Regions from separate parts of the Homo sapiens genome. Here regions 1, 3, 4, 5 and 6 are each linked to region 2. Evidence: promoter capture Hi-C in 16 types of primary human blood cells and fetal thymus (Javierre and others, 2016). All regions are on one chromosome and are shown on one strand. Each heading gives the region's core, a stretch centred on a gene start or on the middle of the fragment in contact. The rest is flanking DNA. Distances are from core to core; before and after follow the strand shown. Region 1 overlaps ZNF485 (zinc finger protein 485). Region 2 holds the start of ZNF22 (zinc finger protein 22). Region 3 has its middle 2.7 kb from the start of ZNF32-AS3. Region 4 overlaps ZNF32-AS3 (ZNF32 antisense RNA 3). Region 5 overlaps LOC105378275 (a long non-coding RNA gene). Region 6 has its middle 33 kb from the start of ZNF32.

Region 1 (4,986 bases), core at 545-3,044, 1.4 Mb before region 2:
AAACTGGCAGACGATGAAAAAAATACACGTTAGCATGTAAAGACGTAGGCCATAAAGACATAGGGTGATAGCAGTGCTCTCTTGACCTTTAGTGTGTGGTAGGGTGGGAGGGGTGGAGTAGTGGGCGCCTTAGTTCTTCCTGAAGAATAAATGAGATTTGCATAATTGCAGAGGATACTAGGGGAAAGCGCTGCCTGAATGAAGTCATTATGGCGGGACCATGAACAAACTGGTCTGAGAAAGTTGGAAACATTCATGGTCTAGAATCCCAGACTGGAGTTTGCTTTTATCCTGGAGAAAACTAGGTTTTGAAGGATTTTGAGAAGCTGATTAAATAATTGGTATTTTGAAAGGAAGTGATAAACATTTGAGTGTCTATTATACAAATAAAATTAAAAAAATTAAAGATCACCTACATTTCTACTGCTCTAAGTCAAGTAATTTCATTTGAAACACACTTTTCATTTTTTTAAGGCTTACTCATTTTTTCTTTTAGTATTTCATAGCCATTCCAATTTGTTCTAGTTTCATTACCACTTTTTGTGGCTTCCTTTTATACTGTGCCTTCAACCAGCCCTGGGACCTTGAGCAAGTTCTTCCAACTCTCTGAACCTTTGTGTCTTTAGCTACGAAATAGATTTTACTTTATATAGTTACGGCAGAAATTTAGAGAGATGATATGTATCTCAGGGTTTAGCACCGTGGCTGGTACATAGTAAGTTGTTACTCTTATGAAAAGCAATTTTTTTTTCTTTTTTAAAAATATTCTGCCCCAGAGTCAGATCATACTCCCTGTAAATTCTCGGATAAAGCTAATCACTTTCCATGTCTTTTCAAAGTTTCTATTCATTTGTTGATTGAATAAAGCTTGAACACTTCTGTGTCAGGCAGTGTTTTTGACTGGGAGGCAGCAGTGACCCACACTGTCCCCCTGGAGCTCACATTAGAGAGGATGCTGACAGTCAGTGCAAACCTCTCCTGCCAGGTGGTGAGAAATCCTGTGAAGAAAAGTGAAATGGGTTTCGAGACTGAGTGGCAGAGGATGGGGTGGAGAAATAGAAGACCTTTTTGATGAGGTGACATGAAGGGTGGAGTGAGCAGAGGCTAGGCCTGGAGGAGGGAGCAGGACAGGCATGCAGGAAGAACCTGCTCAAGGGAGGAGTCGCACATCCCCTGAGCCCTCAGCTTTTACTTGTTGGTTTCCATGAGCACTGTTGGAACTGTCAGAAGCTGGCTTTGACCACCTTGCTTCCTTCTCTTGGGATGCCTCCCTCAGGGGTTCCCGGATGAGCAGAATTGGGTTTGGTTTTGCAGGGACCGCTGACATTTGGGGATGTGGCTGTGGCCTTTACCCGGATTGAGTGGAGACACCTGGATGCTGCTCAGCGGGCCCTGTACAGGGATGTGATGCTGGAGAACTATGGGAATCTGGTGTCTGTGGGTGAGGATGGCTTTCTCCTTGACTCAGGATTGGTCTGCTGGGCAACTTTGTGTTTTCACAGGGTGAATGGTTTGGGGTATTGAAAAAATCTTAAATGATGTGCTTTTTGTTTTGTTTTTCTTAAGTATGGGCTTAGAGGCTGGAGTTTATGCCCCTTACACCCCTCAAGAAAGGTCAGAGCCATACAGAGTTAAGATGGGTAGCTTTGTGGTGCCAACTAGCCCAGTTCTGGAATGTTTCTGTGTCATGATTCATCTGCCTCCCAAAATAGGAGTTTCTCGTCCTCCAGGAGGACCTGGTTTTCTAGTTGACTTTGCCCCCTCCCTTTGCTTTACTTCATGAGTTGGACATCCTGGGTGCCACCCTCTAGGCCTCTCTGACCTGTCCATGCTCATTGCAGATGCTCAAGTTGACACTGAGGTCTGGAGTGACTGCTTGTGCTTGTAACCGCCATCACATTCCTTTTCATTCATTTTTTTTTTCTTCCTCTAAGATCCTTTTTCTTTATGAACAGGGCTTCTCTCTTCCAAACCAAAACTAATTACTCAGTTGGAGCAAGGGGCAGAGCCCTGGACTGAGGTGCGAGAGGCTCCATCAGGCACACATGCAGGTGAGTGGGTGGGGAACATCCCAGCAGAAGCTGAGCACACGGAGCAGTACGGGGGTTCCTGAGTGGAAGCTCATCTTTGAGTGCCCTGTTGGTGCAGAAAGGCACTGGTTTCCTCTTTTGATGTCATCCTCCTGTCAAGTGGCTGGCCGCTTTTCTCCCCAGTCTTTCTGCACTTGGGAGGGCTGCTGCCTTCCTGAGGGCCTCAGGCCCATCTGTGCCATCTCCCAGCCTTCTGAAATCCTCAAGCTCTTTATGTGATTTTTCTCTCTCTCTTTCCAGGCATTCACCAGGTATCTTTTGTTTCTTTCTACTTCTGTTCCATTTTCTTTCTTTCTTTTTTTTATATTTTTTGAGACAGTCTCGCCCTGTCGCCCAGGCTGGAGTGTAATTGTAGCTCACTGCAACCTCAAAGTCTGGACTCAAGCCGTCCTCCTGCCTCAGGCCCCTGAGTAGGAGTAGCTGGGACTACAGGCGTCCACCACAATGCTTGGCTAATTTTTAAATTTTTATTTTATGTAGAGATGGAGTGTCGCTATATTAGTCACGGCTGGTCTCGAACTCCTGGCCTCAAGTGGTCCTTCCACCTTGGCCTCTCAAAGTGCTGGGATTACAGGTGTGAGCCACCACGTCTGGCCCATGTTCATTTTCCATTCCTTACCCACTCTCTCATGGAAGCTTGCTAACTCACTATATACCACTTCCTGGTGGTAGTTGCAGATTCCAAACATAAGCATGGTTTTTTAGCTCTCAGGTAATTGCGATTTTTGGCAAACACATTGTTGGGGAAGCATTTTCTTTCCTTTTCTTAGGGATCTTCTTTTATTTGTCTTTTCTACTGTCCTTTGCTCTTGGCTCTCATTTTTTTCTGTGTATACTTTGTATATGTTTTTGTATGTCACTTTCTCTGTGCCATAGTTCATTTCTGAATCTCTAAGCCTGAATATTTCTCTCACCTAAAATATTTATCCTGCCAGTATTTTTTCTTCTAAAACTCTAATTGTCATTTTGCCTCTATCCTCTTCAGGAGAATGTTTATAACTGTATTTCATGTAAAATACCAGTAATACATAGTCTTGCTTAACCTAGGTCTTTGCTGGTTGTGGGTGGGATGCTTTTGAAGTAATTCCTTTTATTCTTACTGTGTTTAACATTTCCCCCCTAAATTCTTGTGTAGATTCTTTATATAGTAACAAAAGTCACTCAGTCTTCTTTATTCTTTGTTCTTTCTGTTTTAATTTTGGTTGTTATTTGAAATAGAATGTTTAAAACTTGGATGTAATGAAAACAAGCAATGTTTCCCCTAATATTTCTTTCATCTGCTTAGAGGACTAGTAAATCTTTCTACAAAGACTTCACAACCAGTCAGTATTTTATGTTTTTTTTTGTGTGTGTATATTTCCCTTTCTGTTAGTTGTTAGACATGCTTATGGTACCACATTCAGATGGTTCAAATGGTATGCAGTCTCCTTCACATACCTTTCTCATCACTCAGTTCCCCTCCCCAGAGGCATCCCTGTGTCAGTTTCTTGTGGAGATTTGTAGGTGTGATGTATACTTTGTGAGAGTATCCATGAATTCTTTAAGCACATGGTAGCACACTCTTTTGCCTGTTACTTTGGCATTTATGTCTTAGAAGTCATTTGACATAACTATATTGTTTAGAGCTTCTCTCTCTCTCTCCTCTCTCTCTTTCTTTCTTTCTTTTGGAGACAGAGTCTCACTGTTTCCTAGGCTGAAGTACAGTGGTGTGATCATGGCTCACTGCAACCTTGACCTCCTGGCTCAAGTGATCCTCCTGCCTCAGCCTCCTGAGTAGCTGGGACCACAGGAGCATGCTACCACACCTGGCTAAATTTTTTTATTTTTAATTTTATTTATTTATTTTTAAATTTTTTTTTGTAGAGATGAGATCTCGCTATTTTGCCCAGGCTGGTCTGGAACTCGTGGCCTCAAGCAATCCTCTTGCCTCAGTTTCCTAAAGTACTGGGATTACAGGCGTGCATCACCATGCCAGCTTATCTTTCTTTTTGATGCCTGCATAGTGTTCCACTTTATGGATGTCCTATAATTTATGTAATCAGTTATCTTTAGTGGACATAATGACTCTGAACAATGTTGCAGTGATTATCCTCATACACATCAATTCTCTTGTGTACAAGTAAATCTATAGAATAAATTCCTATAAGAATTGTTAAAGGTTAAAATTTTTAAATCCACCAAATTTGGTGGGTATTTCCGCTATTCATAAAGATAATACATGTTTATACTCCTAATGACAACATATGAGTGCCACTTTTATAGCTTGTCAGCAGTGTCTTATATGCTTTGATCCTTGCAAATCTGAGAGGTGAAAATATTTTATTATAATTTTAATTTGCCTTTCTCTTATCAGGAGTGTGATTTAGCATGTTTCAACATTTTGAGCAACCCTTGTATTTATCTTTCCTGAGAACTGCCTGTTCAGTCCTTTGCCCGTTTTACTGTGAGATTGTTGGTCTTTTTATTGTCAGTGTGAAGGGTTCTTTATACATTCAGGAAATTAATTGTATATCATATATATCACAGATTTTTTTTAAAAGTTTGTTTTATATCAGCTTTATATTAACAAAGGTAATGATGGATATGCTTGTCTTTGCATCTTTGCATTGTGTCTGGCCTTCTCATTTGAGCTGGCTGTTGAGTTGGGATACACATACATTGTTATTTAAAGGAAGTATTTCATTCACATGTTTTGTTAAGAAATTTTAGTTTTTTAAATCAAGCATGATTGCTGAATTTTATTAAATGCCTTTTCAAGGTATATGGAAATATCTGTCTTTTCCATTTTGATCTGTTTCTGTGGTAGATTTTATTCTCATTTATCTTGGCCATGACACATTATATCATTCTCTGAATATGACAGTGGATGATTCTGTCTGCCAATCTTTTATTTAAA
Region 2 (5,185 bases), core at 605-3,104:
CTACCTTACTAACAAAATGGCTTTTTAAAAATTATCTTTTTATTTTAGTGTACATAGAGCAGACAGTCCCAACGGGTCATGTTTGCTCCTGACGCTTTTCCTAAACCATTTCTAGATCTCTGGCCATTGCCCTTTACCCCAAACTCTCCAACCACCAGCATCAACCAACTTATAACAATTTAATAATAAAAGTAACAACGACTCTCATTTCTTCTGTGTTATACATTGTGCTAAGTGCCTTACATTACCTCATTTAATCACTGCAATAGTCCAGATACTCTCTAGATTGCGAGTGGAGCTTCTTTGTCCAGACCTCATTCAGCTTTGTGCTTTGCCATATGCAGAGACAGCTCCCTACAGAGCAGAAAGCCCCAACTTAAGAGAATGAACCTATGACTTAGTTTAGCCTCCACCAACAAACCACTGTATTACTTCAGGCAGGTCAGCCTCTCTTGCTTCAGTTTACTGATTTGCAAGACAGATATGATAATCTGTGCTTCATGAGACTATGGTGAAGATGAATAACCAGAAGATAAGATGTAAAAGTACTTTGTAAACAATAAGGCATCTTATAAATTCATTCATTCAACAGCTATTTACTGAGTGTCTGTTCCCTGCTGAGCACTGTTTTCAGCACTGCAGACACAATAAAGAACTAAAGAGACAGATCATGAGAGGCATCGGGTGCCACTGCGAGGTCCTTGGCTTTGCTCTAATAAGTTGGGAAGCCTTTGAAGGTTTTGAACAAATGAATGACATGATCTAACTTAGGTTTAAGAGGATTACTCTGGGGCCGTGAATAGACTGTAGGGCAACCCGTCTGGAAGCCAATATAATAATCCAGAAGGTGGATGAAGGTGGCTTGGTGGTTATAGCAGTGGAAGTGTTGAAAGTGGCTTGATAATGAATATATTTTAACGATGAAGCCGACAGAATTTGTGGATAAATCACAGGTGAATTTTGGATGAAAAAAAGAAGAGACAACAGTGACATCAAGGTTTTTGGCTTGAGCAACTGGAAAGATGATGGGATCTTCACCCATCCCTGGGAAGAAGACTGTTGCAAGAACAGGTTAGGTAGATATCAGGAATTCATTTGGGGGGTATGTTAGGTTTGGGATGTCCATTACACATGCAAATGCAGCTCTTGAGTAATCAGTTCGATATACAAGTCTAAAGTTCAATAACATTTATGTCCCACAGTCAGACTGGAGTTACCAATGCGGGAGTCTTCAGCATGCAGCAATAGCATTGGAAGCCAAAAGGCGGAGGAGCTCCCCAGGGAGTGGGGGAACACGGAGGTCAGCTGGTCAGATGACTGAGCACGGCCAGGATGGCTGAGGAGGAGCCTGGAAGGAATAAGAACAAAGAGAGATCATTACTAATGAGCAACAAAAGGGGTGTGTTGAAATCAGACTTTGGAGCCACAAAGAACCATTCCAATTCTGGGTCGTCCGCTTACACACGGTGAACGGAGCACATTTCTTCTCTGAGCCTTGGTTCCTTTCCTGTAAATGGAGTATAACCACTCCCATCTTGCAGGAGCTTTTTGGTGATAATTAAGGTGACTTCGTGAAAAGTACCAGGGTCTCAAAAATCTCAAAATTTGTGGAAAGTATGCAGTTTCTAGGTTGGAGAGGCTAGAGTTTGGTTTCAAAAGCCTCGACCACACACAGGGGCGGTTACAGCTCTTGAGGTCCCGGGGGTCACAGGACGCCTTCCGAGTTGGGGGGAGGAGAAAACAAAACCACAGGAAGAAACGAACAACGCTTTCGGGTGGGCCCGGGACCATAGAGGGTCGCTCCGCCACTTTCCTAGAGCGACCGCGGCGGCGCCAGAGCGCGGCGAGGCCCTCACTTCCGGCGGCGCGGGAGGCGCCCAGCGAGCCAGAGTGGTGGCTGGTCCCGCGCGGTGAGTGGGATTGGGGCACTTGGGGCGCTCGGGGCCTGCGTCGGATACTCGGGTCCGCTCGGGAGCGCGCTGGCCGCAACGAGGGCGGCGCGGGCCCGGGCGATGGCGTGGCTTGCGTCTCCCGCCTCCGGGCAGGGCCTGGCCGCCGGGCGGGGGCGGGAGGGCCACGCGGGCCCAGGGTGGGGCCGCGGCCTGCGCGGCGGGCGGGCCGGGTCAATGAGGAGCGGCCGGCGGAGTGCTGGGAACGGGAGGCTTGGACTGGGGGCCCGGGCGAGGCGCGGCCCGCGGCGGGTGGAACTGGGCGGGTGAGCAGCAGCCCCGGCCCCTTCCGTCGCTCGGAGCGTTCGAGGACTAGATACGTGGAACAAATGCTTAGGCAGCACAGGGCTGCTCTGAGCGGTTTTCAGATTCAGACTCATTGCAACTTCTAACATCTTGATGGTGTTGCCACTTTATCATTACCCTCCCCATTTTACGAGGAAACTGAGGCACATTCCAGTTAGCTGGGTGTGCAAGAACAGCAGCTTCTGTCACTCAGGTTTAACTTCGTGCTTGCCCCTGCTGGGGAGCTATGCAAAGCACGGGTCGCCGCGCTGGACTGAGCAATGGAAGATGTGGCTGCCACTAAGAGTACAGGCTCTGGAGTCAAACTGCTAGGGTCTGGGAACCCGGCCAGTGCCTTCTAGCATTGTGCCCTCGTTTCCTTAACTTAAAACGGAAATAACTGCATAAAGGTGCCAGGAGAATTAAAGAGCTAGCACAGAATCAAGTTACACAGTGTCTGGCACATACTAGTATGATTGCCTCATCCGTAGGTGGATTTGACAGTCTGAGTTTCTGACTAGATCTGACTTCCATTGTATTAAATGCGTGTGCTTTTATGTATAATGACCATTATAGTTATTAAAAAAAAAAAAAAGCAACACCAACACCATGTACCTAACACAATGTCTCCTGTGTGGTAGATGTTCTGTAAATATTTGCTTAAGTTAAGGAGTGGGTAGTCCTAACTGTAATCTTGTGTTATATGCGGCTTACTCTTACGCTGACCATAATTACAGCTGATGTAATTATTAAATATCCAGATAAAGTCCTGGACCTAAAGTCTCAATTATACAATAAGATGAAAGGAAGGCAAGAAAAATTATGTTTTTGTTTTCATTTATTTGCTTTATATGTTTGTATGCAAAGAAACCCAGAATAATTGTTTCTATTTTAAATTCCACATTCTGACACAAGATAATGAAAAATAGTTCCAATAATTTTATTGCTTTTGAAGTTCTAGATTTTCCGACATTGCCACCTATGTGGGGTTTGTAGGGGTTTTTGTTGGTTTGTTTTGGCCGTTATTTTAAATAGCCACAAGTCAGCCTTATAAATAAATAAAATCATTTGAAATTTTGAATTTTGCAGCATTTGGGTATTCTAAAAATTCCATCCTAGTTTTACATGTAAACTCATTTTCTCCCCCCTCTCCTTTTCTTGTGTCCTACCTACCATGCGTTTTCTACTCAGTTTCATTCCACTTTCTGGTAAAAGTTCTTTTGCAGTTTTTCTGTCTCCGAAAACAGTACTTTCGTTTTGGGTTTTCAACAAATTGCTTTCTTGGATCATTAGGATCTATAAAAACCAATAATAAAGCGTGTCTTCATAGACTAAGTAAACCTACCACTCCCTGTAGAGAAGTTTCAATTTTCAAAACACTTTATGCTACAGAATTAGAGCTAAACTGTCATCTAGAGCTATGGAAATCGAATGCTAAATACAGATAAACAGGAATATATCATAAAGTAGTGTAATTTGTCATTTCTTATTCATTTGGATACCTTAGGCAGTTACTAGTTAGTAGAAGTTTAACATGGAACTAAATATTAAAGCATAGTAATGTTCTGTTACACAAATTTTGATTGTCTTTTGGAGTTACTCCATTCCCATTAAGATTTACCTTATCTCCACTTTTTAGTTCTTCAAAATTATGTACTCATTTGGTAATGCTTGGAAGATTTATATTTCACCTGATCACTTTTAATTTGTCTTGTCCCAATAGACAGAAACTCCAGTGGTAAACTCAGTCAAAATTTGGTGATATTTGTTAAGCTTAAACTCTGGAATTGTTAGAATTACTTTGCAAGTATTTCCCCCAAATTTCCCCCCATATTATCTTTGTTTGCATTTATACTTTTTAAATTTAAACATGAATGCAATTTTGGTGGGTTGAAGAGATATTAAAATTGAATAGTTAACAGATATCTGTAATTTTTTTTCTGATCATCTCTAAATTTTTTTTCCTTCTACACACAGAAAATTCTGAGCTGTACACCTCTAGGAAATGAAACACTAGTTCAGAAGAAGCCTGTAAACTCTCTTACAAATACATTTGGTTATTCACCATGAGGTTAGCAAAGCCTAAAGCGGGTATTTCTCGGAGCTCAAGCCAAGGAAAGGCCTATGAGAACAAGCGCAAAACAGGCCGGCAGCGGCAGAAGTGGGGCATGACTATTCGATTTGACTCAAGCTTCAGTAGACTCAGAAGAAGCTTGGATGACAAACCCTATAAATGTACTGAATGTGAAAAGAGTTTCAGTCAGAGTTCAACTCTTTTTCAACACCAGAAGATCCATACTGGAAAGAAATCCCATAAATGTGCTGATTGTGGGAAAAGTTTCTTTCAGAGTTCTAATCTCATTCAGCATCGACGGATCCATACGGGGGAAAAGCCCTACAAATGTGATGAGTGTGGAGAAAGCTTCAAACAGAGCTCAAATCTCATTCAGCACCAGAGAATTCATACTGGAGAAAAACCCTATCAGTGTGATGAGTGTGGCCGGTGTTTCAGCCAGAGCTCCCACCTTATTCAACATCAGAGAACCCACACTGGGGAGAAACCCTACCAGTGCAGTGAATGTGGCAAATGTTTCAGTCAGAGCTCTCATCTGAGGCAGCACATGAAGGTGCATAAAGAAGAGAAGCCTCGTAAAACCCGGGGCAAAAATATCAGGGTGAAGACTCACTTACCCTCTTGGAAAGCTGGTACAGGAAGGAAGTCTGTGGCTGGTCTCCGTTAAGTATAGGGCTTTTTGACAGCTTTTTGAGACCTCTTAAGAAAAAATAAAAAGTAAAAAATGAAAGGAATCTTTTTTAGAAATAGAGATGCTTTATAGTAGATCACTTAAATACTGGATCTTTTGCTAGTGTGAAAACATTGGGAATTTAATGACATTATTGAGCTGAAAGAAATTACATGAGTCCAGCTACCCTCATTTCTTTTTTATGTG
Region 3 (4,758 bases), core at 1,670-4,169, 1.4 Mb before region 2:
TAAAATATTTGAGATAAATTTAACGAAATAAATGTGAGACTTGTACACTGAAAACTACAACCATTCCAGAAAGAAATTTTTAAAAATCTAAATAAATGCAGGGACACTCTGCATTAATGGAGTTGAAGCTCAAAATTTTAAGATTGCAGAACTCTTCAAATTGATCTATAGGTTCAATGCAGCACCTATCACATTTGCAGCAGAGTTGTTCTGAACAATTGACAAACTGATTCTGCAATTTATACTAAAAGAAGAATTGAGAATGGTCAAAACAATCTTGAAAAAGAACAAAGAACAAAATTCATCCCAGTTTCAGAGCGTACTATACAACTACTAAGGGGGAAAAAACAAACTTTTCCATCTGCCCTCACACCACGACAGCAATCAACACAGAAGACTTCTGTGACCAAATGTGTGGGGATTTTTCCTGACAGATAGTGTCAGACCCCACAGGTTGAGGGCTCAAGCCTATAAGACTGCCTACAACCTCTCAGATGCTAGGTGCATCTGGAGGCATTCTGGAGGTAAGCCCTGGCCACCAAAACTTCTGACCCACCAGCTTCAAGTTGGGGCCCCCACAATCACCTCTTTGGGTTCCATTTACATAACTGCTGTCACCACACAATTAATTTGCTAGAACAGCTCACAGAACTCAGGGAAACACCTACTTAAATTTACTGGTTTATTCTTAAGGATATTACAAAGGAAAGTGATGAGGAGGTGCCTAGGGTGAGGCATGTGGGAAGGGGTATGGAGCTTTCATGCCCTCCTGGAGTGTGCCACCCTCCAGAACCTCCATAGGTTTTGCTATCTAGAAGCTCTCTGAACCCTGTCCTTGAGGTTATTATGGAGGCTTCATTACATAGCCATGATTGTTTAAACCACTGGCCATTGGTGATCAACATAACCTTCAGTCCCTCAACCCTCTCCAGAGGAGGTAGGCCTGAAAGTCCCAACCCTGTAATCCTCCCTTGGTCTTTATGGTGACAGCCCCATCCTGAAGCTACCTGGGGGGCTGTCAATGCATTAACATACAATAAGACATCACTTTGGTGTTTCTAAGGGTTTTAGGAGTTGTATGCTAGGAAATGATTTATATATTATGTATTTCACAATGTTACAGCTACTACATTTATCAAGACACTGTGGTCATAGCATAAAAGTAGACATATAGACCCATCAAACAGAATAGAGATTCTAGAAATAAACCCTTATGTTTTTGGTCAGTGGATTTTTTTTTTTCAGACAGGGTCTCTCACTCTATTGCCCAGGCTGGAATGCAGTGGTAAGATCATGGCTCACTGCAGCCTCGACCTCCCAGGCTCAAACGATCCTCCCACCTCAGCCTCCTGAGTAGGTGGAACTACAGATGTGCAACACAACACTGGCTAATTTTAAAATATTTTTATAGAAATGGGGTCTCCCTATGTTGATCAGGCTAGTCTTGAACTCCTGGGCTCAAGCAATCCTCTTGCGTCAACCTCTCAAAGTGCTGGGATTACAGGTGTGAGCCACCGGGCCCACCATCATTGGATTTTTTTTTTAATGGGCTCAAGTGATCTCTGTAGTCCCAGCTACTTGGGAGGCTGAGACGGGAGGATCACCTGAGCCCATTACCAATGGATTTTTGACAGATGTGCCAAGGCAATTCAATGTGGAGAAAGGATAGGTTTTTCAACAAATGGTGCTGGAATAATTGGATATCCTCATGTAAAAAAATATACGTTTAGTCATTTTACATCATACATAAAAATCAAGAAAGATAATTGACCTAAATATAAGAGGTATAACTATAAATTTGGTTTGGGATGTAAAAGCGAAGGGAAAACTTCCCCATTGCCCTCTGAAAGTTTGCTGAAAATCACTGACAAAAGGCAGATTAATAGAAAAGGCATGCACATTTATTTGATCATAGTTTTACTTGAAATAGGCATGCGCCTGTAATTCCAGTTCCTTGGGAGGCTGAGGCAGGAGAATTGCTTGAACCTGGGAGGTGGAGGTTGCAGTGAGCCGAGATGGCGCCATTGTACTCCAGCCTGGGCAACAGAGCAAGATTCCATCTAAAATAAATAAATAAATAAATAAATAAAAAGAGGCCGGGCGTGGTGGCTCATGCCTGTAATCCCAGCACTTTGGGAGGCTGGGGCAGGCAGATCACGAGGTCAGGAGTTCGAGACCAGCCTGGCCAACATGGTGAAACCCCATCTCTACTAAAAATACAAAAATTAGCTGGGTGTGGTAGTCCCAGCTACTCGGGAGGCTGAGGCAGGAGAATCACTTGAACCCAGGAGGTGGAGGTTGCAGTGAGCTGAGATCGCACCATAGCACTCCAGCCTGGTGACAGAGCGAGACTCTGTCTCAAAAAAAAAAAAAAAAAAAAAAGAAAGTTCAATAAGCACATGAAAACATCGTTAGATATTAGAGAAATGTAAATTAAAACACAATGAGATGCCACTGATGCTTTATGCCCCAGGGAGTGTTGTCTGTAATAAAAATCCACTAACAAGTGTTGAGGGATGGTATAATTTGGATATTTGTTCCTTCCAATTATCATGTTGAAATGTGGTCTCCAGTGTTGGAGGTGGGGCCTGGTGGGAGGTATTTGGGTCATAGGAGTGGATCCCTCATGAATGGCTTGGTGCACTCCCTGTGGTAATGAGTTACCTTGAGATCTAATTGTTTAAAAGAGCCTGGGACCTCCCCCACTGCCACCCCACTCTCTTTCTCACCATGTGATGTGCTGGCTCCCCCTCACCTTCTGCCATGATTGTAAGCTTCTTAAGGCCTCACCAGAAGCTGAGCAGATGCTGGTACCATGCTTGTACAGCCTGCGGAATTGTGAGCCAAATAAACCTCCTTTCTTTACAGATTACCCAGACTTGTGTATTACTTTTTAGCAGGGGTGTCCAATCATTTGGCTTCCCTGGGCCACATTGGAAGAATTGTCTTGGGCCCCACATAAAATACACTAACGCTAATGATAGCTGATGAGCTAAAAAAAAATTGCAAAATTCTTATAATGTTTTAAGAAAGTTTATGCATTTGTGTTGGGCTGCAGGTTGGACAAGCTTGCTTTATAGCAACACAGGATGGACAAATACAGGGGAGAATGTGAAGAAACTGGAGCCTTCATACATTGTTGGTGGAAATGTAAAATGCCATTTTGACAACAGTTTTCCAGTTTCTTAAAATGCTAAATACAGTTTTACCATATGACCCAGTGATTCTACTCTGAGGTATACCCAAGAAAATTAAAATATATGTCCACATAAAAACTTATATGTAAATATTCATAGCATCATTTTTCTTTCTTTCTTTCTTTTTTTTTTGAGATGGAGTCTTGCTGTGTCACTCAGGCTGGAGTGCAGTGGCGCGATCTCGGCTCACTGTAACCTCTGCCCCCAGGTTCAAGCGATTCTCCTGCCTCAGCCTCCGGAGTAGCTGGGATTACAAACATGCACTATCATGCCTGGCTAATTTTTGTATTTTTATTTGAGACAGAGTTTCATCATTTTGGCCAGACTGGTCTTGAACTCCTGACCTCAGGTGATCGACCTGCCTCGGCCTCCCAAAGTGCTAGGATTACAGGCGTGACCCACCGCATCCAGCCGTCATTTTTCAAAATAGCCAAAAACTGGAAACAACCAAAATGTCCATCAACTTATGATTGGATAAACAATATCTGCTATATTCACACAATGAAATATTACTCAACAATAAAAGGAATAAAGTACTGATACATGTTACTATATGGATGGACCTCAAAAACATTATACTAAATGAAATAAGCCATATATTGTATAATTCCTTTTATATGAAATGTCCAGAAAAGGCAAGTCTATAGAAACAGATATTAGATTTATGGTCCCGTGGAGCAGAGGGTAGCAATGAGGGATGATTGCAAATGGAAATGAAGTTTGTTAATGGTGTAGTGCAAATGTTCTAATGATAGATTGCAATGTTAGTTGTTCAGCTTTGCACATTTTCTAAAAATAATTGAATTGTACACCTAAAATAAGTGAGTGTTATTGTATGTGAATTATGCCTTGATAAAACTGTTTTTAAAAATAATAGCAAGATATGGGAGTTGAGGGTGTTTGCAAGCAGGTGATTGATTCAAAGAGGGACCATATAATGTAAGCTGGTAAGGAAGGTTGAAGAGTAGTGGGAGAGTAGCAGGATCCATGAATTATTGATGCAGCTGACAATTTATTGGCTTTAGTTCACTAGAGGAAGTGAGATGCAAAGACAGGAGTTGATAATCAGAAAATGAGATGATTAAAATTGAGACCATTGTTGGATTAATAATGCAGAAGTTACAAATATGATCATGGATGGAGGTGAGTGGCTCTGGTCTTCTGGAGAGGAAGTTCATTGGAAGTAAGGAGGAAAAGTGATGAGTCATTTATAAGCACTCCAAGTGTGATGACAGTAGAGCTGGAGTGAGTGATAATGATACAGGAACTAAAATCTTCAAGGGGTGACCCAGGTGATAGATGATTGCTGCAAAGAGGAATAATGTGTACAATGGCTTTAAGGCAAGAGACTCAACGTTGGAGTTAAGAGGGAGGGAGAGAGTATTGCCTTGAAGCAAGCAGAGACAGGGTCACAACAGGCTATAGTCAGGATTATATGAGATGTTTGTATAGGCAAAACCCCAAGAAACTTCCTGAAAGGTTACGGTAATAGTAAAACAAGTTTTTCCATCACATCTGTAGCTTGTGTTGAATGAGATGTATTGATTACAGTCGCCATCTC
Region 4 (4,904 bases), core at 1,965-4,464, 1.3 Mb before region 2:
TTGCCTTGTGGTTATTAAGTTTCTGAAAGAAAGTACCAATATTTACTTAAGAGAAAAGACAAATTATAGGGTGAAGGCTAAATTGATGTTTACATTATCAAAGACTGCTGTTTTCAGAGCAAAAATGGATGTTAACCATGAAAATGTTTTATGCCGTGGCATTTTTTGGAACATATTTTTTTCATTTAAAAAGTTTCAATATATGGCAAATATGTAAATGTGCACATGGGAACACGTCATTTTTCTGTACTTTTGTCCTCTTTATTTCTGAAATCCTTCCAACTACCTAAAAGTTCCAACTATTAAAAAGTACTGCAGTCTGTTAGCATTTCAAATGTTTGTAAACTTTGATTTAGAACTGTTCCAGTATTTAATTCTGAACTTGCCAGTTTATTAATGCTTTTAAAATAAAATTTATTGCACTAGGAGTTGAAATAAGTTGTTTTTAACTCATAAAAAGAGCTGCTGAAAAGTATTTTCCTACATTTTTCCGAATAACATTTTCAGAAATGCCTAGAGAGATACAAATTTAAAATACTTAATTGGAAACATTTTACATTTAGAAGTACTTCTAATAAAATTAGAGACAATATTTTTCTGCAATTTTTCTACAGCAGAAGGAGAAGTTGTTACTTCAGTTTTGGGCCCCTGGCATTGGTCCATACCTGGAGGTCCTCCTGGGAAGGTGTTCCCATGGCCTAGGTTCTGTGATGTTGGTGAAGGGCACCATAAGGCAGCCGTTCCCAGCCACGTTCAGTTGGCAGAGCCCCTCATGCTCTGACACTTCATAAAACATGGCACGCAGCAGCTGCTGGTAGCGCCCCTGACATCTCTTGAGCTCACCTTGTGCTTTGGTGGCCAATGTCCCTGTATGTCGAGGGCTCCCCACCTCAAGAACTTGAGCTCCCTGCTTGAGGCCTTTCAGTGGCCACAGGAATTTGCCTGCCCTGTGGGTGTGCCCAGCTTCAGGTGCTGGGGATTTAATGCTTCCAGGAGGCACCTTCCATCGATAAGGACTAGGAGTTCCTGGAGGACTATCCCAGCTCACCCCCTTTTCCGTGAGTCAGTCCTGCCGTGTTTCATGTTCTCTTACAGTGCCTCAGTGGGATTGTACCCAATTTGCCACAGTGGTACCCCACTCATTCTTGCACCTGTGTGTGGCACAGCTTCTGGTTCTGGCTCATTGCTCAGTGGCTGACAGTGCTTCCCAAACGACTAGCCCCAAGCCTGTCTCAGAGTCTCCTTTTTGGGGAGGCCAGCAGAAGATGCCATGTGCACCAGGTGACTCAACAGCACCCCCAGGCTCATGGGGGGTGTCGAAAGCTTGTGGTGGCCCCGAAGCTACTTGAAGTAATGGGGAATTCAGGAAAATCACTAAACTCCAACAGGAAGGGCCAAGGAAATGGATACAAAACACATAATGCACACACACACACGTAAGTAATGGAAGAGAAGATAGTATCATTTTAAACCAGCGTTTAAGATCATGAGCTAAATAATAAAGAATAGAAACAGGTGGGAAAGTGGACGGAGGGAAACCAAAAATCATTAAAGACTTACACTTCCATAAAGGGCAAACCAAGTTTTGTGTGTTCATTACCAGTATATTTATTTATTATTATTTTTAGATGGAGTCTTGCTCTGTCACCCAGGCTGGAGTGCAATAGCGCAATCTTGGCTCACTGTAACCTCTGCCTCCTGGGTTCAAATGTTTCTCCTGCCTCAGCCTCCTAAGTAGCTGGGATTACAGGCACCCACCACCACGCCCAGCTAATTTTTGTATTTTTGTTTTTTAAAGTGGAGATGGGATTTCACCATGTTGGCCAGGCTGGTCTCCAACTCCTGACCTCAGGTGATCTGCCCACCTTGGCCTCCCAAAGTGCTTGGATTACAGGCATGAGCCCCTGAGCCCAGCCTAGATATATTTTAAATGAGACTGATACTGTTTTAGGATAATAACTCTAGGATCAAAACTGGGCTGATTTCTTGGCTGACCTTAGTAAAAGATGGAAGCAAACAAGAATGTGGCTCCCTTATCCCAAGACAGTAAATAGATAAGGAAGATGAAAAGCTGGGCCTGCTCTGCAGGTGTCCATGGTAGGCACTGCCAATGGGGCGGGGGCTCCCTCACCTCCCACGATTTCCCTACACGGGTCCTTCCAGCTTTCCTGTTAATCATTTAGTAGATCTGCCACCTCCTTCTTCTCTCTCCATCACTCCGCACCATCTGTGTGAACTTTTTCTGGATTTCTGGATGGGCTTCTAAATGTTGACTTGTCTAAAATATACAAGTATTGTGTATATTAGGCACCCAATAAATTCCAAACCATAACGAATACACAAAATCCCCTAAAGACCGGCTTGCGGCCGGGCGCGGTGGCTCACGCCTGTAATCCCAGCACTTCGGGAGGCTGATGTGGGTGGATCACTTGAGGTCAGGAGATCTAGACTAGCCTGGTCAACATGGTGAAACCCCGTCTCTACTAAAAATACAAAACTTAGCTGGGCGTGGTGGTGCATTCCTGTAATCCCAGCTACTCAGGAGGCTGAGGCACGAGAATTGCTTGAACCTGGGAGGCGGAGCTACAGTGAGCCAAGATCGTGCCACTGCACTTCGCCTGGGCAACAGAGTGAGAACCTGTCTCAAAAATACCAAACCATAGTGATGGTTTGGTATTATATTTATATTTGAGCACCACTATGCTCAAATATAAATATAATTTAAAAAATGGGCTTGGAAACAGTCCACGTCTGTCGCTCTTGGTCACAGATGTGTGTATGTAGCCATTGCTGCATAGAATCTATAATTTCATCCTTTGTAGTAGGCATTGTTCTTCCCTCCATGGTTTGGAGAGGTTACCACACATATCCAAGATCTCACAACCAGTGAGCAGTCGATGTGGGATTCTACCCAGGTCTGACTCAAGTACCTTGTTCCTTCCAACTCACCAGGCTTTCATGACGGGATATGCATTGGGCAGCAGCAGAATAACCAGAAAGCCTTTGCCAAATAGGATCACAGGCACTGACACCAATATTAATATTAAAAGGGCATGGTTTAGTCAACTGCAATTGGCAAAATATGTATAAACAGCATTTAACAAAAATTATTATCAATATTAAGGATAATGTCTTTGAAACTTTATGAATTTTGTTACTTTTTGACATAAAGACATAAGATGTAGAGTTAGGAGCAATTTGACAAAATATGTTAGACAATTTGACTCACCATTATTAAAGTCAAGCTGGCAAAGGTAAGTAGAAATTACAAAAATACAAAACAGAATTCATCGATAGATTCTGACTTTGGAGCCTTTCTTTGAGACAGGGTCTCACTCTGTTGCCCAGGCTGGGGTGCAGTGGAGATCATAGCTCACTGCAGCCTCAACTTCCTGGGCTCAAGCCACCCTCCCACCTCAGCTTCCTGAGTAGCTGGGACTATAGGCACATACCACCACACCATCTAATTTGTAAATTTTTTTGTAGAGACAGGATCTCACTATGTTGCTCAGGCTGATCTCAAACTCCTGGGCTCAAGAGATCCTCCCACTGCAGCCTTCCAAAGTGTTGGGATTACAGGCGTGAGCCATCAGGTCCTGCCTGGGGACTTTCTGGTGTCTAAAATGTTTACAAAATATGGTAAATCATTATGACATAAAAAGGATCAAAGCATTAGAAAATACAAAGAAAATCAGCCAGGCGCAGTGGCTCATACCTGTAATCCCAGAACTTTGGGAGGGTGAGGTGAGCAGATCTCTTGAGGTCAGGAGTTCAAGACCAGCCTGGCCAACATGGTGGAACCCCGTCTCTACTAAAAATATGAAAATTAGCCTGGCATGGTGGTGCTCAAATATAATTAATTATAACTCAAGTATTTTGGGAGAAATACTTTTATGAAGTCAAATTTATCATTTTTTAATGATTTAATGTTTCTGTGTCCTAAGAACCCTTTGCCTACTCTAATTTTTTTTTTTTTAAGAATCTCCTGTGTTATCCTCTAGATGCTTTATGGTTCTAGCTTTTATTTTTAGGTCTATAACCCATTTTAATTTTTGTGTATGTAGTGACGTAGAGGTCAAAGTTCATTTTTTCCATGTGAATAATCAGTGCTTGAGCACCATTTGTTAAGGAAGACTTTTTTGGGAAAGAAAGCAAAGGCCCTCTCTCCCGAGGGCTTCTGGACTGAATGCTAACAGCAGTCTGGGCTAGCTAAAATTATAAAAGACAACGCAACCAAATATAGGCAAGAATATATAGCACTGAACTCTCAAATATTGCTGAAAGGAGTATAAAATGGCTGGAGAACTTTAGAGACCTTTTGTTAATTTCTTATAAGTTTCAAGATACATCTACCCTATGGTTCAGAAATTTCACTCCTAGGTATTTGCCAACAGGAATAAAACACGTCTACAAAAAGACTTGCACAAGAATGTAGCCTTATTCGAATAACCCAAAAGGGAAAACAACCAAATGTCCATCAATAGTAGAATGGATATACAAACTGTGGCACATTAATACTATGGAATAGTAGTCAGCAAACAACAAAAGGATGCTCACCTGACTCGCACAATATACATTGATCTCAAAAAAACATTATGTGGATTGAACGAAAGCAAGACACAAATACAGACAATATGATCCCATTTATATGAAGCTCAGGAAGAGAAAAATTAATCTATGATGACAGAAATCAGAACACCAGAGCATAGTTTCTCTGGGATGGAAGAAGGTGGGAGGACTAGTTGGAAAGAACTTGAAACACTTGGGGTAATGGACATGCACCATCTCTTGTTTACAGTGATTGCACAGGAGTAATATAATTACCAAAGCATATTGAAATGAATGTTTTGCATTTTTTTGTGTGTCTAAATTACATCTCCACTAAAAATTACCACCAAAGAAGT
Region 5 (5,155 bases), core at 1,467-3,966, 1.2 Mb before region 2:
GCCTCCCAAGTAGCTGGGAGTACAGGCCTGCATGACCATGTCCAGCTAATTAAACTTTTTTTTTTTTTTTGGTAGAGATGAGATTTTGCTATGTTGCCCAGGCTGGTCTTGAACTCCTGGCCTCAAGCATTCTTCCCTCTTTAGCCACCCAAAGTGCTGGGATTATAGGTGTTAGCAACTGTGCACAGCTTTATATAAAGAGATTTATTATAAGGAATGGGCTTACATCATATGGAGGCTGAAAAGTCCCTAGATATGCAGTTGGCAAGCTGGAGAGCCAGCAGGAGAGCCCTCGGTGTAGTTCCAGAGTCTGAGTCTGAAGGCAGGAAAAGACCGAGGTCCCAGCTCAAGGCAGTCAGATAAGAGGCGTTTCTTATTTCAGCCTTTGTGTTCTATTCAGGATTTCAATGGATTGAATGAGACCCAGCCACGCCGGAGAGGGCAATCTGCGTTACTCACTTTACCAACTTGGATGTGAATCTCACGGAGAGGCTCCCCCACAGACATACCCAGAATACTATTTGACCAAATGTCTGGATATCCTGTGGCTCAGTCAAGTTGTTACATAAAATTAACCATCCCTACTGGTATGCACAGAAACATTAGTTGGAGCACGGCAGTTTGTGTTCATTCACAGCACCCTGGGTACATAAATAAATCCACAGCCAAGCAAAGGATTGCGCCGAGGCTGTAGCAAAGCAAGCAGGAGGGCGCGGCCCAGGAGATGTGAGCTCCCATACTGCTCGCAGCACTGGGACCCAGCATCCCCCTCAGCAATAGCCCAGAATACACAGGGCATCAAGAGCCCTGCCCTGCAAAGGGAGGGCAAACCTCCCATTCCTGGTGCTTTAAGTGGACCCAATCCCTGGCTGGAACTTGAAGGCAGGCCACAGAAACAGACTATTTCCGCCCTTTACTACTCGTACTTGTCTCAGCCCATCTGCTCACACCTTATCCTTCGGGTTCCTAACCCCACTATCTGTACCCAGGTCTTATATTAGCATTTTCCCCCTGGCCACTCAACTTAATGCATGTTTAGATTCACTTTTGGGGCTTCATGAAGTTCCGACTTTCTTTGGGCACTGGACACTGCATCGTGGAATCCCTACATTCTTTGCAAAAACTTCCTTACTCCAACCCACGTCGCAAGGACCTCCCACTCATGACTATGCAGAGTTGGGGATTTGGCCTAACCCAGCAGGCTGGCTTCTCCTGCAGATGCGCCAGGCATCCCGTCACATAATCAGCATGCCTGCTTCTGGAGAGGGACCACTCATTGTGTTGGGCTCCCTTGCGAGCTCAGCACTGAGATGGTCCTAGGAGTTTCTATCCCCACATTGCACCTGGAAATCTCATGGTCCTTGACAGCCACAGGTTTCCAGTGGCAGCTCATGAGGCCTCCAGATAGGTGGCAGGGACCGAAATACTTCACAGCTTTTCCACGGACAAAGATCAGCAATTTGTTTTTAAAATAAAAAGTCAATGTTAAAGTGAAGTTGGCATCAGGTAATTGAGATGCTATCAGGATCCTGAGTGGGGACTGAACACATGCAACCACACAGTGTAGTATTTTTAGGCAATTGCTCACTCATTTGAGAAAACACAGTGGGTAAAACTGTTTCCCTTGTGGTGACTGTTGGACTTCCTGCATTTTCAGAGGTTTTCTGTATTTTCATAGGAGTCCCATTTCCTTTTAAGAACCAGATTGCCAATGCCCCATTAGTTAGCTTTCCACTCCAACAGGCCGCTTGCTCTTTTGCCTTTCCCTCCCCTTCTCTTTTAAACCAATTAATTAAAAAGCTTTACAAAAACAATACATGCTAACGTGAAAAATTAAAGCAGTATAGAAAACTACAACACAAAAAGGAAAAGCTCCTCTGCCCTCAGCTCCTACACTCCTCAGAGGTGGCCATCATGAACATTGGCTTCTTTCTAGAACTTTTCCTGCATAGACAATCAGAGAAACATAGATTGATAGACTGATTTATGCAAAGATGGCTGAATAATGATGTTTAATGCTCTGTTACTTGCTTTTTCCTACTTAATTTATGCTAGACATGATTTCACAGCAGTTGTCAAGGAGGTCTATCACCCTTTTCAACATTTGCATTTTTTCAATTATAAATAAAAAATTAATTAATTAAGAAACACTTGCATTTGGTTCTACTGTAGAAGTGTACCATCATTTGTTTAACCAATATTCCACAGATTGACTTGTAGATTACTTCAGAGGTCTTAATATTAAATGTTCCAGTAAATATCCTCAGGCATGTGTTTTTGAAGAACAGGGCTAGTGTATCAACAGGAGATTGTTTTATAGGTCTTTATAAAATTAAACTGTTTTCACTGGTATAAAAATTTAATAATTGTCAAATAAAATGTTGCTCTTTTAAAGTTTCTTCTCATTATCAAATGACGCTTTTTTTTTTGTCTTGGTCTTCTATAAACCTGCCCTTAAGCTGTGACAAAATTAATTTAAAAAAATCGATGTTGGTCCATGGGATCCATAAATTCTTTTTATAGATCGTTTAACAGAATTCTGTGTCGTGGGCGAGGCTCCAGGCTGGTGTGCAGCGGTGCGCTCCTGGGTCTGTGAGTGGGCATTCCTCAGAATCCCCACAGCCTGACCTGCTGCCCTTTGCTGGTTTCACTTGAAGCTATTATTCCAATTGACTCACTCTTGGCTGACATCTGGATGCGTTTTATAACAGACTGTTTTCATAACTCCACAAAAAGGTTCTCAGGATTAATACTTGTTTATTTTCATTTTCCATTGGACCTTAAATTAGCTAGCAGCCAATACTGGCACAACCCCTTACTGGAAGCCATTTTACCTAAGTGGAGGGGATGGCAAATCCATCCAACCTTGGGTTTTCTGTTGCTTTAAAACCTCTTGCCAACCAACTATTCCAGAGTGGCTGTCAAATCAACCAATAGCAAAATATTTGGGAGTATTTGTCAGTTAGCTGGGGTAGAAGCAGCCAGATGTGTGGATAGGTCATACAGTTACCTTCCCCGTGTAAGTTGGGGCCAGGGTAACCCATGGACATGTGTGCATGTACAACACAGGTGCATGTACAGCCAAGCATACAGGTGCCAAGATATTTTATTGGGATATTATGTGTTTTCTTCTCTCTGTTGTAGGTATTTTTTTTTCCTCTCCCACCTGAAAATTTTTTCTTTGCTTTTTGAGATTGTACTTTCAAAGACATTCAAGACACCCAGATTTTAAATTCAGGGTGTTAATCCAGGGTTTTGTTTTTGAAGACCTGGGATCATTGAAGGGATTAAGTTAGATTTTCCTAGAGGAAAGAGGCAAGTGACTGCCTTTGAATTTAAGGATTGTCTGTATACGTGTGTGTGTGTCTGTGTGGTGGAGGAGGGGGTTGTTTGCCCTTTAACATTTGTTCTTTTAAGGTTTCTTCTCATTATCAAGTGACACTCTTTTTTTTTTGTTCTATAAACTTACCACTGAGCTGTGATAAAATTGATCATTTAAAAAAATATGTGTTGATCTGTTGTGATCTATAACTTATTTTCTTATAGATTATCATGGGCACAGCTCAAGGCTAGTGGTACAAGAGCACCCCTTCCCAGCAAATTAAAAAGCCTGTTATTTTTGCAAAAGCATTAGAAGCTTTCAACAATGTTGTCAAGAGCCTTTCTTAACTCTTTGGTGACTGGTCTGAGTCAGTCACAGGTGGAAGGTGTGATGTGATCAGACAGGCCCTGACATTTCTTGTGAACTCATGAAATCCTGCATCTTTTCCAAATGTGCAATTTTGTTTTTGAAATTAATTTTTATTATCTTCACATTGTGTTGGATGATCAGAGGATTATAATTATTCCCTGCCCCAGGGGAGAGTATTGCAAAGGTACATAGGGCATGAACGTGGGGAGGGCAAGAAGTGTGCCCAAAGCGTGCTATAGCACAGTGTGTGTTCCACTCCTCATACAGCAATGAACTGGTGAAGGAGTTAAAATCTTAATGATTTCCAAATGATCAACAGTTTTTAAAAACATAAATATGCAGCATGAGAGCCTACATTTGTACAAGTGTATGGTTGTGTGTGTGTGTGTGTGTGTGTGTGTATGAACATGCTTGCATGTATGTGCTCACAAATGGGGAGGAAGCACAAGAGGCAAAAGGCAATGGTTTGTTTCCTTTTTGAATTTAGGAGGTATGTTCAAGACAAGGAAGTTCTTTTCTTATCTTCATCAGACTACTGGAAAATGGAATAAAAATACAAACCATAAACTTCAGGCACTCAAGTTTCTGAGTTAAGAGTAGCATTCAAATGTTATTCCAAACCTCTATGGTCATAAGATTTCTATATTTTAAGTTGGGTGGTACAATACTAGCTCTAAGTAGGCGGTAAAAGTTAAGGAAATGTATTGTAATTTCTAGAACAATCACTCCAAATGTAATGCGATGAAGTATTGCTAAAAAGCCAACAGAAACATTAAAGTGGAATTCCAGACACTTCAAATAAACAGTCAGGAAAGCTGAGGATAATTCATTTAAAGTGTCTAGGGGCAGATAACAGGCCTTAAATGAATGGTTAAAGAAAAGTCAGCAGAAGAGAAAAGCAAAACAAAAACAAAAAGAAAGCACTCTGTATTTCCTCTCCTAAACATTGTTTAAAAAGCAGCTTGCAGGATATAGAGAAAATTCTTTTGGAAGAACGCTTGCTTAAGTAAGGTACCTAAATATCTTACCTAAATAAGATATTTTCGAACAACAAATACTCATACTTTTAAAGAAATACAACCACAAGCTCTGCAACTTAGAGATCAAAAAATGAGAGGCAAGGAGAATTGATACATGGAGAGGAACAAATATAGCACCACAGGACTACTGAGTTTATTAGAATTGATGTTGTCAAAAATGGAACTGTCATATGGATGAGATTTTAGAAATTATACAGTATGCAAAGGTTAGAGGGGGATTTGAATACTATGGTAAGTACAAGCAACAGGCAAATGTGTTCCAGTGCACCACTGATGCACTTCAAATAGAGAAAAGAGCACTTTGGAACAAAAAAATTATAGTTAGAAAGGATTTTTAAAATAGTTTAAAAAAACTTTCCGGAAATGACAAAAGATCTGAATTATTAGATAAGAGTGCTTATCATGTCTTAGGAAAAAGAAAGTA
Region 6 (4,553 bases), core at 138-2,637, 1.3 Mb before region 2:
CCTGGTACATCAAAATATGATCTTTTTAGTTACTGTTTTTGTTTAAAGCCATAGTAACATAATTGAATTACAGTTGGGAGTAGCCATTTTGCAGAACTTTTAAAAATATCGAGCCAAATCTGTTTGCCATAGCACTTTATAACACTAGGATTAAATACTCTTTGACAAATGTTTTAATTGCTGACAAGTGCAACTTAGGGAGGCGGTTTTGAGGAGTTTTGGCTGGTGTCCCGGTGCCTGCTGTCAAGTGCTGGCATGGCCCAAGGAGCTCTGGTAACCAGGAGGCGGGGAAACCAGAGCATGCTGACTTGGCATGGCCCAAGGAGCTCTGGTAACCAGGAGGCGGGGAAACCAGAGCATGCTGACTTGGCCCGGACTTCTCCTAGGTTCGGAGTCTTTCTGTGCCTTTCTCCTCATGCCTGTTTGGGACATGACAGGACTCACCATGGCTCCACTCCCCAGAGTTCTGCTGGGATGAATGGAGTCAACCGGGTGAGCCCTGGATGAAGGGTGAGGCTCATGGTAGGGATTCCTTCCTCACTTCCACCTATGGTTTGAATGTCCCTCCAAAGTGCATGCTGAAATTTAATTGCCATTTTAACAATATGAAGAGGCAGGACCTTTAGGAAGGTCTGCCCTCATGAATGGATTGACGCTATTATCTTGGGAGTGGGTTCGTTATCACAGGCGTGGGTTCCTTACTAAAGGGTGTTTGCCCTGCCTTTTCTGCCTTCCCCTACCCTCTCTCATCCTCTCCTGCCCTCTTACCTTCCACCATGGGATGACTCAGCAAGAATGAGTCACCAGATGCTGGAGCCTTAATTTGCACTTAGCCCCCAGACTGTGAGAGAAATTTCTCTCCTTTATAAACTACCCAGTCTCGGGTATTTTGTTATAGCAGCACACAATGGACTGAGGCACTTCTTCAACACATCATGTCCCTAGCACAGACTGCTCAGACTTCTATTCAGAATTACTTCTGTGCTCATGTATTCAGTACAGAAGAAGTTGTTACTTGACTCAAAGTTATTTTATTTTTAAAATTAACATGCAGTAAGTGTGACCTTTTGGGAATGGGCTGTTCCACCACAATCAGGACACAGAATTGTTCCATCTCCCCCAAAGCTTCCTGATGCTGTTCCTTTATAGTCACACTGTCCCTTCCTTCACCCCCAGCCCCTGGTACCCACTCCATGACTATAGTTTTGTCTGCTTTGAGAATGTCATATAAATGGAATCATAGAGTATGTAACTTCTGAGACTGGCTTCTGTTACTCAGTGTAATGCCTTTGAGATTCAGCCAGCTTGTTGCATGGATCGGTAATTTGTCTTTTTACTGCTCGGTAGTAGTCTGTTGTATAGAGCTCTGATGGATAGGCCTGGCTGAGCCATCCCCCATGTCTTCCAAGTCACTAGATGTGTCAGTGAGGTCAGCTTGGTCCCTCCAGAAGAGCCTGCTTGCCAGCTGAATACCACCAAGTGATCTCTGCAGTGCCATGTGGGACAGAGAAGTCACCCAGCCAAACCTTGCCCAATTTCCCCAGCCACAAAAAAATGAGACATAAAGAAGCAGTGGCTGTTTTTACCCACTAAGTTTGGATTTGTCTGTTCCATGATTGTGGATAACCAGAACACACCCCAATGGGTACTTAAGCTTCACAGGAATAAGGATCACATCTCTTGACAACCTAAAACTTTGGATCCAGTGGTGCTCAATAAGCATTTTTATTTTTAAAAACCAATTTCCTCTCTGTGCTTGGCAAGACACTTTATAAATGTGTGATAGTGATGAGGACGTGGAATTATCTCGATAATTTCCTTGATGATAAGAAAATTATCCACTAGCTATCAAATACTGTTAAGTATGTTAGTCGTGGACTCCCTCATGAGTTGTGGGGACAATCACTGGAGCCCTTTGGGGCCCTGGGAAGAGGAAGGAGCACAGCAGATGCTTCAGGCAGAGCGCCAGCCTTGTTATTGGCTTGGCTTCCTCCTCCATCCCTGCAGGTCCTGTCGCCTGTAGTTTTCCAGGAATGGGTGTTTTGGGGCCTTGATTCTTCCTCAATGAAGCCCATCCTTCCTGGTCCTCCACCATGGTCCTCTCAACCATTGCAGGTGTCTCCCTCACAGTGCAGGGAGTGACAGCACGGACGCTGCAGCCAAGCAGGCTGACATTTGAATTCTACTTTTATCACTTACTGGATATGTAAACCTTGAAAAGTTTCCTAAATCCCCAGAACTTCAAATTTCCCATCTATAGGATGTGCATAAAAACACATACCTCAGAGGATTGTTTCGAGGATTAGGTGTAGTGATACATGTGGAGCCTCTAGCCTGGGCTGCAGGCGAGGGCACAAGAACTCTCTGTCTCTGTGGAGCAGGGTCGTGGCACCTGGCAGCATGGGCTATGAGGAAGGAAGGAGCCCAGTGGGTTCAAGGACTGGACGAAGGGCCAAGTGGTTGGAGCGCTGAGCCTGAGGGCCGAGGGACATAAAATGAGGTTTGGGAAACTCATAGGGACTTAATCAGGTGGGGTCTTGCAGCTGCATTGAGGATGCCAACTTTTTATTCTGGGAGCAATAGTCAGCCAGGGCTGTGGCTAGTTTTGTTCTTTGAAAATTTAGACTGCAGGGTTAGAGGTGTGCAGATTAAAGGTGTGCAACAGAGGATTCACAGCAGCTCAGGCAAGAGCTGATGGTGGCTGGTACTAGGGAAGTAATGGTGAAAAAGTACAACTTAGGAGAGAAAAATCCACTAGGTTTAGGGATAGACTAGATGTCTGATGGTGCATATTGGGGAATGTGAGGGAAAGAAGACATGGAAGATGATTTCCGAGTTTCTGGCTTCAGCAGCTGATGGATAAGGTGCCATTCACTGGGATAGGAACCCAGGAAGAGAAGCAATTGGCAGTGCCATGAGGTCAGGTTTGCATATTCTGGAAGAAAGGCCCTTGGACTTATGATGGGAGATATTGAGGAGACACATATATTCAGATTCAGAGCTCAGAGATGAGATCTAGGTAGAGATGTACCTTTGGGAGTCAGCTACCGGCAGATGGTAGACGTGTATTAGGGTAATTAATGCTCGCTTTTGAAACAAACCCTGGAAAATCTCAGTGAGTGAACATATAAAAGTTGATTTCTTGCTCTCACAAAGTCTGTTGTGGGTCAGAATGTTCCTCTGAATGGCCATCTTCCAAATGGTGACTGAACTCAGGTTCCAGAACAAAAGGGCTCGTTCAGGATGTTTTATGCTGTATGCCACTTTGGTCCTTGTCCCATGAGCTGGAACCCAGTCATGTGTCCCCAACGTAACTGTAAGAGAAACTGGGAATTATAGTTGGTCTATGTGTCCCACAAGAGGAACAGAGGTTGGTGAGCATCTAGCCAGGTAACCATGGTAATGAATGTTGTTATGAATGAGAACCCCCTGGGAAGAGAAGATGGAGTTTGAAGATGAGGAGCTTATTAAGGACTGGCCCTTGAGTCGTCTGTACATATACAGACAGTTAGAAAAAGGTGGACTGGCAAAGAAAACTGAGAAGGAGTAGCCAGAGATAGAGGAGGACAACTAAGAGAATGTGGAGTTAGGGAAACCAGGAGAAGTATGAGAAAATCAGAAGGAGTCTGACAACCATCCACTGAAACCAGTTACATGGAGAGCATTGATGACTCGAGGGAATATGCTCCTGGGGAGCTAATGAAGGCAGAAATCTGTGTGGACTGCATGGAGAGTCAGTGAGATGTGAGTCAACAAAAATGAATACAGACAGTTCTCTTGAGAAGCTTGATGTTAAGTGGGAGACAGGGGGATGGTGGCTAGAAGGAACATTGCAGTTGAGGCATTTTTTTGTTTGCTTTTTGCTTTGACGATAGGAGAGATTTGAACTTGTTTAAATGTTAAAATTTCAGAGAGAGAGAGAGGGTGCAAGCAAAAAATGGGAGAAGAAATCTGTGATGATGAACAGTCCCTGGAAATGTGAAAGTGTTAAAACTTCAAGTACTGGGTTTATCCTTTGAGCCTCCCATAGCAGCTGCCTCCAGCTCCATCTTCCCAGCCTTGTGCAGAGAAAGGAGAGGACCTGCCTGTCAGCCCTGTAATTTTGATTACCGTTGAAATTTCTCCCATTACACAACACACCTTGCTCAGTGCTGCAGAGATTCATCACTTAGACCAGAGCACCCCCAGCCCTCTAGCCCAGGGATGGAGTGAAGGGGGTCGATGTGAAGCTCAGCGGCTCCCTCTAGAGTTCAGCGAGAGTTCTGCCCTGTGGTGTTGCTTCTGCTCAAGTCTCCAGCCCGTTTCTCATGATTCCCTCCGCCACCCATCCACCGTATGAATCCAGCTTTTTAAAATAACTTACAGTTCTTCAGTTGAGTTTTGTTCTGTCATGTCTTTGACCTAACATGAAGTTAATTCCTCTTTCTGGACACAATTCCTTTGACTTTTTTTTCCCTGGTTATCTCTTATTCATCACCCAAGAACCTGTATCCCTCCTCATTCATTCCTGTCACCAAGAACCTGTATCCTTCCTGTGTGGTTCTTCGTGCTAA

The links. Contacts are between HindIII fragments. The CHiCAGO score rates a contact against its expected background, and 5 or more counts as called.
Region 1: a contact is called between a fragment that was not itself captured here and the fragment with the promoter of ZNF22 in region 2, in 1 of 17 cell types (activated CD4 T cells). The highest score is 6.9, in activated CD4 T cells.
Region 3: a contact is called between a fragment that was not itself captured here and the fragment with the promoter of ZNF22 in region 2, in 2 of 17 cell types (total B cells and activated CD4 T cells). The highest score is 5.2, in total B cells.
Region 4: a contact is called between a fragment that was not itself captured here and the fragment with the promoter of ZNF22 in region 2, in 8 of 17 cell types (total B cells, total CD4 T cells, non-activated CD4 T cells and 5 more). The highest score is 13.4, in total B cells.
Region 5: a contact is called between a fragment that was not itself captured here and the fragment with the promoter of ZNF22 in region 2, in 1 of 17 cell types (total CD8 T cells). The highest score is 5.4, in total CD8 T cells.
Region 6: a fragment that was not itself captured here is called in contact with the fragment with the promoter of ZNF22 in region 2 in 6 of 17 cell types (total B cells, naive B cells, total CD4 T cells and 3 more); the score reaches 9.1 in total B cells.

Annotation. Positions count from the first base shown.
Region 1 is chr10:43,607,300-43,612,285 of GRCh38, forward strand. ZNF485 (zinc finger protein 485) reads left to right here. Exons shown (of 5, transcript NM_145312.4): 3 at 1,315-1,441; 4 at 1,956-2,051. Among named protein-coding and RNA genes, the nearest start is that of ZNF485, 3.4 kb to the left of the region's middle. The HindIII fragment of the contact is 1,859 bases long and covers 866-2,724 here.
Region 2 is chr10:44,999,069-45,004,253 of GRCh38, forward strand. ZNF22 (zinc finger protein 22) reads left to right here and starts at 1,855. Exons shown (of 2, transcript NM_006963.5): 1 at 1,855-1,910; 2 at 4,212-5,185. The coding sequence starts at 4,301. The coding sequence ends at 4,975. It overlaps LOC124902530, which reads left to right. Exons shown (of 3, transcript XM_047426129.1): 3 at 1,712-3,315. The coding sequence ends at 2,341. It overlaps ZNF22-AS1 (ZNF22 antisense RNA 1), which reads right to left and starts at 1,735. Exons shown (of 4, transcript NR_126421.2): 1 at 1,462-1,735; 2 at 1,218-1,348; 3 at 249-354. RefSeq lists a silencer at 1,895-2,244 and an enhancer at 1,971-2,471. The HindIII fragment of the contact is 6,687 bases long and covers 1-4,005 here.
Region 3 is chr10:43,623,725-43,628,482 of GRCh38, forward strand. No RefSeq gene overlaps it. Among named protein-coding and RNA genes, the nearest start is that of ZNF32-AS3, 2.7 kb to the right of the region's middle. The HindIII fragment of the contact is 294 bases long and covers 2,773-3,066 here.
Region 4 is chr10:43,657,534-43,662,437 of GRCh38, forward strand. The region is part of intron 1 of ZNF32-AS3 (ZNF32 antisense RNA 3); the gene reads left to right. Among named protein-coding and RNA genes, the nearest start is that of ZNF32, 11 kb to the left of the region's middle. The HindIII fragment of the contact is 3,787 bases long and covers 1,322-4,904 here.
Region 5 is chr10:43,806,737-43,811,891 of GRCh38, forward strand. The region is part of intron 2 of LOC105378275 (a long non-coding RNA gene); the gene reads left to right. Among named protein-coding and RNA genes, the nearest start is that of LINC02658, 30 kb to the left of the region's middle. The HindIII fragment of the contact is 1,837 bases long and covers 1,799-3,635 here.
Region 6 is chr10:43,679,442-43,683,994 of GRCh38, forward strand. No RefSeq gene overlaps it. Among named protein-coding and RNA genes, the nearest start is that of ZNF32, 33 kb to the left of the region's middle. The HindIII fragment of the contact is 529 bases long and covers 1,124-1,652 here.